3 separate regions of the Homo sapiens genome follow, and regions 1 and 3 are each linked to region 2. Evidence: promoter capture Hi-C in 16 types of primary human blood cells and fetal thymus (Javierre and others, 2016). All regions are on one chromosome and are shown on one strand. Each heading gives the region's core, a stretch centred on a gene start or on the middle of the fragment in contact. The rest is flanking DNA. Distances are from core to core; before and after follow the strand shown. Region 1 overlaps FRG1 (FSHD region gene 1). Region 2 holds the start of CYP4V2 (cytochrome P450 family 4 subfamily V member 2). Region 3 overlaps DCTD (dCMP deaminase).

What was found. The method cuts DNA at HindIII sites, captures the fragments that hold promoters and counts their contacts. A CHiCAGO score of 5 or more calls a contact.
Region 1: a contact is called between a fragment that was not itself captured here and the fragment with the promoter of CYP4V2 in region 2, in 1 of 17 cell types (M0 macrophages). The highest score is 6.6, in M0 macrophages.
Region 3: a fragment that was not itself captured here is called in contact with the fragment with the promoter of CYP4V2 in region 2 in 1 of 17 cell types (activated CD4 T cells); the score reaches 6.1 in activated CD4 T cells.

The regions. Positions count from the first base shown.
Region 1 is chr4:189,945,478-189,948,533 of GRCh38, forward strand. The region is part of intron 2 of FRG1 (FSHD region gene 1); the gene reads left to right. Among named protein-coding and RNA genes, the nearest start is that of FRG1, 6.1 kb to the left of the region's middle. The HindIII fragment of the contact is 3,672 bases long and covers 1-3,056 here.
Region 2 is chr4:186,189,742-186,193,111 of GRCh38, forward strand. CYP4V2 (cytochrome P450 family 4 subfamily V member 2) reads left to right here and starts at 1,826. Exons shown (of 11, transcript NM_207352.4): 1 at 1,826-2,296. The coding sequence starts at 2,083. FLJ38576 (a long non-coding RNA gene) reads right to left here and starts at 1,749. Exons shown (of 1, transcript NR_046264.1): 1 at 1-1,749. RefSeq lists a silencer at 1,623-2,152. The HindIII fragment of the contact is 5,614 bases long and covers 1-3,187 here.
Region 3 is chr4:182,912,619-182,915,850 of GRCh38, forward strand. It overlaps DCTD (dCMP deaminase), which reads right to left. Exons shown (of 6, transcript NM_001921.3): 2 at 2,843-2,957; 3 at 2,305-2,440. The coding sequence starts at 2,950. Among named protein-coding and RNA genes, the nearest start is that of DCTD, 3.2 kb to the right of the region's middle. The HindIII fragment of the contact is 2,165 bases long and covers 535-2,699 here.

The DNA.
Region 1 (3,056 bases), core at 456-2,955, 3.8 Mb after region 2:
GATGCCTCTTTCTGTATCTGTTGAGATGATTATACAGCTTTCTTCATTCTGCCAGTGGATTATATTGGTTTCATTTTCAACTTTTAAACTAACTTTACATCCCTGAGATAAACCCCACTTGGTTGTGGTGCGTTGTCCTTTGGGATATTGCTAGATTTGATTTCTAGGTGTTTGTGTTTTTTGTTTTTTTTTAAGATTTCTATATTGGTGTTGATGGGAGATATTGGACTTTTGTATCCTTTTCTTGTAATGTCTTTTTTTGATTTTGGTGTCAAGGTGATACTGGGTGTCACAAAATTAGATGGAAAGTGCTGTCTCCTTTCCTATTTTTGGAAATAGCTGTGTAGAGATGGGTATGAGTTGTTCTTTACATGTTTGATAGAATTCACCAGTGAAGTCAGCTGAACCCGGAGGGTTTTGTTTGGTTTGGTTTTAGTTTTTTGTGGGAAAATTAAAATTTTTTAAGAGATATTTTCAGATTTTTCTGTTGTGTCAGTTTTGGCAATTTGTGTCTTTTAAGAAAATTTCATCTAAGTTGTTGGATTTATTGGCATAGAATTGTTCAGAATATTCCTTTAATATGCTTTTAATGTCCGTAGAATCTCATCTGTATTGCAGTCTCTTCATATTGGTAATTTGTGTTTTTGCTATGTTTTCCTGGATCAGTCAGTCTAGCTGGAGGTTTCTCAATTCTTTACAAGATCATTTATTTTAGATCGTTAATGATCGTTTAGTACAGGTGTATTCAATCTTTTAGCTTCCCTGGGCCACAATGAAAGGAGAGGAATTGTCTTGGGCCACACATAAAATACACTAACGATAAGCTGATAAGCCAAAAAAAAAAAAAAAGCAAAAAAATCTCATAATATTTCAAGAAAGTTTATGAATTTGTGTTGGGCTGCATTCACAGCTGGCCTGGGCCACATGTGGCCCTCAGGTTGGACAAGCCTGTTTCAATATTACTTATTTTCTCTTTTTTTCATTTTCTATTTCATTTATTTTCAGTCTTTTATTTTTTTCCTCCCTTTAACTTATTTTCAGTTTACTTTGCTCTTGTTTTATTGCTTCTTAGGAAGGGAGTTAGATCTCTTCATTCCACTTTAGTTTCAGTTATAGTCAACACATTTTGTTTTCATTTTCATTCCATTCAAAATATCATCTAGTTTTCCTTGTGATTTTTCTTTTCATGGACACGTGAGTTATTTAAAAGTATATTGTTTTTAATTTCTACTACATAGAGATATTATAGGTATGTTATTGTTGCTGATTTCTAATTCATTTATAGTATAGTTGGAGAACATACTTTCTTAGTGAATTTCCATGTAGACTTGAATGTGTATTCTGCAGATGTTGGTTCAGGGTTTTTTGTTTGTTTGTTTGTTTGTTTTTTTGGAGATGGAGTCTCGCTGTTGCCCAACAGGCTGGAGTGCAGTGGTGCAATCTCGGCTCACTGCAACCTCCGCCTCCCAGGTTCAAGTGAATCTCCTGCCTCAGCCTCCGGAGTAACTGGAATTACAGGCACCTGCCACCACACCCGGCTAATTTTTTAAATATTTTTAGTAGAGACAGGGTTTCACCACGTTGACCAAGCTGGTCTCAAACTCCTGACCTCAGGTGATCCTCCCGCCTCGGCGGGATCCAGGCGTGAGCCGCGGTGCCCGGCCAGTTCAGTGTTCTTTAGATGTCTGTTAGATCAACTGGTAGAGCTTGTGACTATGCATATCTTCTGTGTCCTTACTGATTTTTTACTAATGCTACAGTGTATTGATAGTTATGTTAAAATCTCCAGCGGTAATTCTAGATCTGTCTACTTGAGCAGTTTTTGCTTAAAGTATTTTGAAGCCGTCATGTGTACACATTTAGGATTGTTAAGTCTTCCTTATAAATTCAGTCTTTCATTTTCATAACATTTTAACCTTATTTCTGTTAAATGTCTTGATGCCTAGTCAAATTATTTGACCACCCTTTTGCTCCTGTCAAGCCTGGGCCTTTGTTAGTTTGTGCTTATTTATTAGGGTTTTGCTCGTAGACTTAGACAGTGACTCTTAGTCTAGGAAAGGTTCATCCTCATGGGCCTCAGCCACATGTTCTAGGTATACTTAGTGAGTTCTCTCCACTCTGCTGTGTCCCAAATTTGTGTGATCTCTGGCATCTCCAGTCAGCCCTCAGAAGTGCCAGCCACTCTGCAGAGGCCTTGTGGAGCCTGCCTGCTGCATGCACTCCCCCCAGCCCTTGGCCACAGACCTGCAGAGAACTTTTGCGTACTCTTTTGAGGCCTCACCTGTATGTAGTTCCCTCTTCTCCAGTACCTTATTCTATAAACTCCCAACATGTTAGCACTGTAAGACTCTCAGCTTAGTGACAGTGACATTGCCTCATTTCTGGAGGTCTCTACCTCTCTCCGTGTGGTCAAGAAACTGCCATTGGGCAGAAAACACAAGTGTGTATGAGATTTGCCTCCAGTGTTTTCCTGTTCTCAAATATCACAGTCCTGTTCTGCCTGTGTTCCAATCTCTGAAAACAGTTTTCTCAAATATTCTATCCAGTTTCAGTTTTCTCGTTGGTCATGGTGGGAGGGCAAGTCCATCTTGGCTGGAAGAGGAAGTCCTTCTGCGTCTTTTTCTCTTTGTCCTTCCACATGGTTTTGCATTGTGGATTTTCTAAACTTGCCGTATAAGTAAGCATGTGCCTATTTGTGAAGGGAAAGAAAAAAAACCTTTTAATTTTTTAAAGCTGTTCTGTTGGTTCCTCACAAGGATCTGAAGGGATTGGTAAATAGGATGAAAGAAATTCTGTCTTTCACATGGAGAAAACCAAGTGTGACATTAATAAAAACGAGCATGTCTGTAGGCAAAGAGTTTCACTGAGCTCTGCTAGATTCAGAAGCAGTTGGACTTACAACATCGTACTTTGCAAAACACATATATTTTATTTACCCAGGAACTAAAGCTAAGTCAGCTGTGGATTAATAGAAGGTCTGTGAAGGGTACTTAGACTACAGTAAGATTGGGGAAGAAAATTCCATTTCCAAATCTAAGATATATCATTCCTTTGTG
Region 2 (3,370 bases), core at 576-3,075:
CTTTACCCACAGATTGCCTTCAAAATAAAGATAAAGCGTCTAAGCCTGGCAGTGCAGGTCTCTTTAAGCTGGCTCCATACCCACCCACCTCATCCTGCACCTGTCACTGCGTGGGACCCTGTGCTCCAGGCAGGGGCACCTCACTGCCCCCTGAGCTCATTTTACCCCTCCTGGCTCTGCAGCATTTCTGACCATTTCTGCCCAGGCCGAGACTCACTGCTGCCCAGAGCAATCTCCCTTCTCTCCTTCTGGAGGGGAGGGGTTGTATGTTACCCGCCTGGTTTTATCCACAGAGGTTAGCAGAGACTGATACAGACAAACCCTTTTTCTTTCTAATTTTAGATTCAAGAGCACATGTGCAGGTTTGTTAAATTTGCCTGACGCTGAGGTTTGAGTTTCTATTGATCCCCTCACCTGAATAGGGAACACAGTACCCAATACACAGTTTTTCAACCATTACTCCCCTTCCTTCCTCCCCCTATTTTAGAATCCCCAGTATGTAGACAAATTGTTTACTTTTATAGCTGTAATTAACCTTATTATAGCTCAGCCTCAACCCTTTAGAGAGGAGGAAACTAAAGCCCATGAGACTTGCTTAAAGATACTAAGTGAACATATTTATTTTTTAAAGTGTTAAAGTGATTAAACAATGTAGACGTGAATGAAATAAAAAGCGTAAGTTCCCCATCTTCATTCCCACTCCATAGAGCTGATCAGTATTTTTACTTGCAGACATTAGTGGAGCCGTAGAGAAAGAAACCTTTTCTCCAAAAGAAGGCATTACTTTACACACTCCGTTCTGCAACTTGTTTTGTTCACTTGCTATTTCACGTCAGCCCATGCAGATGACTTAAAACAAATTCAAATGGAGAAAAGCCTTAGGCATGTTTTTCTCTGCACTAAAGAGGCCCTGCAGGTGGCTGTGGCCAACTTATGCAGTGGCTTCGAGTGAACGAACGTAATTAGTAATTAAGCAAAGCGGGCATCCAGGACATTCAGTTTCATCTTCCTGGCACTTTAGTGTTTAGGAAGGGCCTGGCCTCTCGGGGAGCGACACTCCTCGCCCGGCCACTTTGTAAGAAGCATCGAGCGTGGAAAAGGGGCTGGGGTCAGCACTGGGGCCCTCTGCCGGGAAGAGAGACTGGCGGCCAGCACACGCGTCTCCCCAGGCTGAAATGGGGCACCCTCTCGCGGCCCTTCCCTCCCTTCCCGGGCTGGGTGGCAGGTCTTGGCTCTTCTGCGAGTACCCCGCGGCTGCGGTCTCCCGGCACCCGCTGAGCAGCCTCGCCCGCCTTCCTCTCCCACCCGCCCCTGCGTGCTCTCCGGGGCTCCGGCTTCCTCGGTCTGGTGCCTGGTGCGTATTTTGGAAAATACCTGGCTCATAACCACCTCATTGAGCTCCCAGTGTCCCAGTGGGCCAGCGGACACACACGGGTAGCTGACTTCCCTAACGTGTCCCCAAAGCCTCCCTGGATTACAGCGCCCGCTGCTCCATGTGACCCCGCGGGAGCCAGGACGCGCCCCGCCTCCCGGGGCTGCAAGTTGCGCAGGGAGCGAGCGATGCGCAGCAGAGCTGGGCTCCGAGCCGGATGCGCCTTCCTTTCCTCTCCAGAGCAGGCTGCCCGCCCGCGGAATCCCGCACGTAGAGCAACCTCGCAGCACCCTCAGAACAGCCCCGCTGGGGCGCGCCGGGCTGCCGCGGTGACCTTTCCGACGCCCCTGACCCCGCATCCGGAGGCGGCCGGAAGTGTCGCCGGCCTCCTCCCGGCGCAGCCTCCGGGCCTCCAGTGCAATCACTACGCCCTGGGGCCCGGAAACCGTTTTCCGGTCTTTCGCTTTCGGCTGGGGCGTGGAGGCCGCGGTGCTGCGTAGGCCGGGCCGGGCGCAGGAACAGCCCCGTGGCGCCCTCTCTGGCCGCCGCCCGGGCGGGAAACGTCGTTCCGGGGACCGGGCGACCCCGCAGCGGGGAGCGCGCCAGGTCCGCGCGGGGAAGTGGGCGGTGTGCGGCCGGCACCGCCTCGCACCACGCCCCCGCGGGCCCGCACTTTCCCGGAGTGCACCCCGCGGCCGCCAGCCGGGGCGATGGCGGGGCTCTGGCTGGGGCTCGTGTGGCAGAAGCTGCTGCTGTGGGGCGCGGCGAGTGCCCTTTCCCTGGCCGGCGCCAGTCTGGTCCTGAGCCTGCTGCAGAGGGTGGCGAGCTACGCGCGGAAATGGCAGCAGATGCGGCCCATCCCCACGGTGGCCCGCGCCTACCCACTGGTGGGCCACGCGCTGCTGATGAAGCCGGACGGGCGAGGTAAGGGCCGGCGCTCCTCCTGGAGCGCAACGGGGTCCGCAGCCCCGTTCCCACCCTCCGATCAGCCAGGAACCCGCTGCTTGTGGCGCTGGCCGCAGGAGAGAGGAGCCTGTCACCCTGTGGAGAATGCACTCCCAGTTCTAGTCGTTGCCCCTTGGCACCCGCCGACACTGCTAGTGCCCCATCCCAAAGTGAGCATTTTCTTTGTGTGTAGCACAGGATGCGGTATTTCCAAACCCCTGCCCTCGGTCTTTTCCCACCTCACCGCTGCTCAGCTCTCAAAGCCCTGCCGTTTCCTCCTGCCTTGGCTTGGGAAGCCTTAGGAACAGAAGCTCCCTGGGAGCACAGAGCGGTTTTAAACTGGCCAACACCTTAACGCCCAGAGCCGCCCTCCTCTCGCTGCCACTTTGGAAAATAAGAGACTAGAGATTCACTGGACGCTTCCTCCCGGCATCACAAGACTTGACTGCTGCTTCAGTTCCCGCTTGACCTTCATACTTTAGCCCTTTAAAGGATGTTACATAATAACAATTAAGAGACGGCAGGGCCTTCAGGCAGACTTCTTTGGAGGGTGTCAAACGCCTTGTTTATTAAAGAGTGAATTTTTTAATTAAAATCATGTTTTAAAACAGAGATGGACATTTTATTGATGGAAAAAAATCACGTTAAGTTAGAAAGCTCTCAAAAGTACCTGGTATTTACAACTCCCTGTCAGGGAGGGCGAACTCGATCTCAGAGTTTTATTTTCATCAGGGATTACGTTGAGGTACCCAGAAATGAGAAGATTTGCCCAAAATGGCATATTTTAAAATTGGCCCAGACCAGAACCCAGTTTCCTCTGGGATTATTTGTTAGTAATCGTTTTACAGGCTGAGCATTAACTAACTCCAAAGCTTGAAGGACTTTTTCTCATTTTCACTTGTTTTCTCTAATAAAAATAATGCTGTAATTTCAACTTCACAAGATGAGGCCTCATGGAAGAGTGTTTACCAAAATATTAAAAATACTTTGACAGAAAAAAATCAAGCGAACTCTTTGCCAACCAAATATCATCATGACTGATGTAACAAGTAA
Region 3 (3,232 bases), core at 367-2,866, 3.3 Mb before region 2:
TCCTTCTAGAAAGGGGCTCTGAAAGGTACTCTCCTCAATTTGGACAAAAGGCAGTGTCTCATAACCAACAAAATCAGCTACACGGGAAGTCAGGAGAGCTGGGAAGTCTGGGGTGTGGGGCAGGTGCTGCAAATGTACTGCATGGCCCTTGGCTTCCAGGTCACTGCTTAAAGATCTGCTGGGGGCTCTGGGTGACTGAAGAAGGCACAGGCCCCATTGGGAGGCCCACTCAGTGCTCACCCAGGACCCCTCCGCACTGTCCAACCACGGGTATCTTTTGCACCAGCTTGAGTATGACGGACCGCCATCCCCCCAGAATTCCTCCATATCAAAGTCCAGCCCCAGGGCCAATATTTCACTGCCCAGACTCGGTGACATACTGACTGTGGCCGTCACACAGTTCAATGCAGACCTTTAACATATCGACCCTCCACTTTCACCATTTTTATAGGGGACTTTGAACCGCACTGTGAAAAATTATCTTTGCATGGACTTAAAAACAACTAATCACTTCCCTTCTTTCTTACCATCAAAAGCTTATAGAATCAAAATCAGGGTGACAGTTTCTGAGTCCGCGCATTTTTCTAATTAGTCATCCACTACCACCGGCTCTGAAGCTGTGCTGAGAAGACAGTCTTACCCTCCCCCAACTCCATCCTCTCTTCCCACTCCGACGAGGGAGGGTGAGGTTAAATCAAGGATCTGAGGATTCGGTCCCCTTCATCCCTAAACTACTTTTCACATCCTGGAAACCCAGACTGCTTTGCAGTCCTCAGTTCCTCCTCTCTCTCCAGGTACCTCTTAACTTTTTCTTTCAAACATGGAGAAGTTGCCCCTAGGCAATTTAGAAAGAAATTTATGGGGCTTATTTAACATGATTGAGGTCCAGGAACATTAGTAAAAATATATAAATTAGACTAAATGTTGACTTGGATTCTTCATGAGAAAAACCCAGAAGAAAACCTACCAGGAGAGTCAACAAAGAAGAAAGGTCGTACATCACGCCTTGGCCTGAAGACACAATCTTTCCCATTTGGATGGCCTTACTCTCCCTTCACTTCCAACAGCGCCAGTCTGTTCATTCTCAGACATAAAATACAGGGCCTAACCTTACAAAAATCAGCAACCTGCATACCCAGCATGATTTGCCTCTTTTCCAGCATTGCTTGCATATTCTCCAAGGAATGCAAGGAAAAGTAAAGCTATGGCTGGACCCTCCCAGGCAATCTCTGAAGGAATTTTCCCTGGGGCTTAGACAGGCAACAAACTCTAAGAAGCAGCCTTCCCTAATTTCAAGGGGAAAATCCAGAGACAGTCAAGCCAAAGGTTTACAGTTCTACACTTCTAGCTTTTTCTTTTCTTTGTTTTTGTTTTGTTTTTTGTTTGTTTGTTTTTGTTTTGTTTTTTGAGACAGAGTCTTGCTCTGTCACCCAGGCTGGAGTGCAGTGGCGCAGTCTTGGCTCACTACAACCTCCACCTCCTGAGTTCAAGCGATTCTCCTTCCTCAGCCTCCCGAGTAGCTGAGATTACAGGCACCTGCCACCACGCACAGCTAATTTTTGTATTTTTAGTAGAGATGGGGTTTCACCATGTTGGCTAGGCTGGTCTCGAACTCCTGACCTCAGGTGATCTGCCCGTCTCCACCTCCCAAAGTGTTGGGATTACAGGCGTGAGCCATCGTGCCCAGCCTCACTTCTGGCTTTTGGTCTGACCACAGCCTACTGTGAAATTGCAGCATCCCCTGTAACTGGAGGAAGCAACTGGATCCTCCATCTCCTGATGTCTAGTTCACAGTTTGATTCCTGCTTGCCAGCAATGAGCTTGAGCCAGATGTTCTCATCAGGCACATGGGCTGAATGAAGCCTGCTTCTCATCAGACCAAAGCCCGAGCCAGCCCCTGGTTAGCCGACCCTGCTTCCAAGTAGTAAAAAAAGGAACCCACAGAGACACCATGCACATCCCTCAGCTATCTCTGCAAGGGGCTGTGACCCTCTGCAGAGACGCCGACTATCAGTGCACTGGTGTGGTGCAGGCCAGCAGGTTGCCAGTGAAGCCTGCCAGGCTCAGCACAGGCAGCAGAGCCCTGGATCTCAGGGCCAGCCTGTGTGGCCACTACCATGCTTCTCTCCGTGGCTCTCTTTGGAACTTAAGAGACAAGGCCAGGAAATTGGGGTAGTTCAGTAGGATACTTTTCTTTCCAGTTGTTGATGACAAAAGGGAGATGATGCCTTCTGACCAACTTTCTTAATTAGGCACTCACCAGGCTATGTCACTAAGCAGAATGGGACATAAAACTTGCCCTACCGTACGGGTATTTGGTGTCCAGCTTATTCTCTGCTGTCCTTCTCCAAGGCAACACGTCATCACTGCACCCATTTGGCATCCCATTGTACCCAATCCCGACAATCTTGTTTTCTGAATTCACGATGCAGGCGCCGACCTAGAAGGAAACATGCCCAAAGGCTTGGTGCCTGCAACTGGCTGGTCTGCCGCTGTGGAAGCAGGGAATAAAACCAGGGGGACTGCAGAACTCAAAACAGACGCATAGCTGCTGCAGGTGCTGAGAGCTGTCGGTCTCCTTGCCTGGTTTTTTGTGGCAGCACCCACAAGCCAAGGAAAGTGCACCCCCAGTCCCAGAAGGGGCACAAGAGGCAGTTAACAATGGCATGTGACAATTTTCTGTCTCACAGGAAGAACTAAGCTTGTAGAAACGCAGCACAAAAGGCAGACCGACCCTGCACTTTTAAGTTGACAGGCGTCCACTGAGTCTCCCCTTTCTGCTCATGTGCAGTAATCTCTTTGCCTGTGAGTATCTAAGCATTCTCCCGTGAAATTCATTTACCTGGGAATTTGGATCTTTGCTTCTCTGTGCTGATAAGAAGGCCACAGCCATAAAATACTCTGGCCATTCCAAATAGTCGTCCCGTTTCTTGCAGGAAACTTCACTCATGTTGGGTCTAGAAGAAAAACATGACAAAACAGAAGTTGAGAGAAGCATTTTAGTAAGTCTGTTTTCCAGTTCAACCCAACCACACTGAACCTTTAAATCTCTAAACATGGGCAACTTCAGCTACATTTATCAATCAGAAATCACAGCACATGGGCCCTAAACAGTCTCTGGTCTTAAGTAAAAACTTAAGAAATTTCCTATTTCAGAAGTTTGAATTTGAAACCTATAGCTTCACGTTCCCAAATATTTCATCTATTTACTGCTTTCTCATAGGATTTTTTA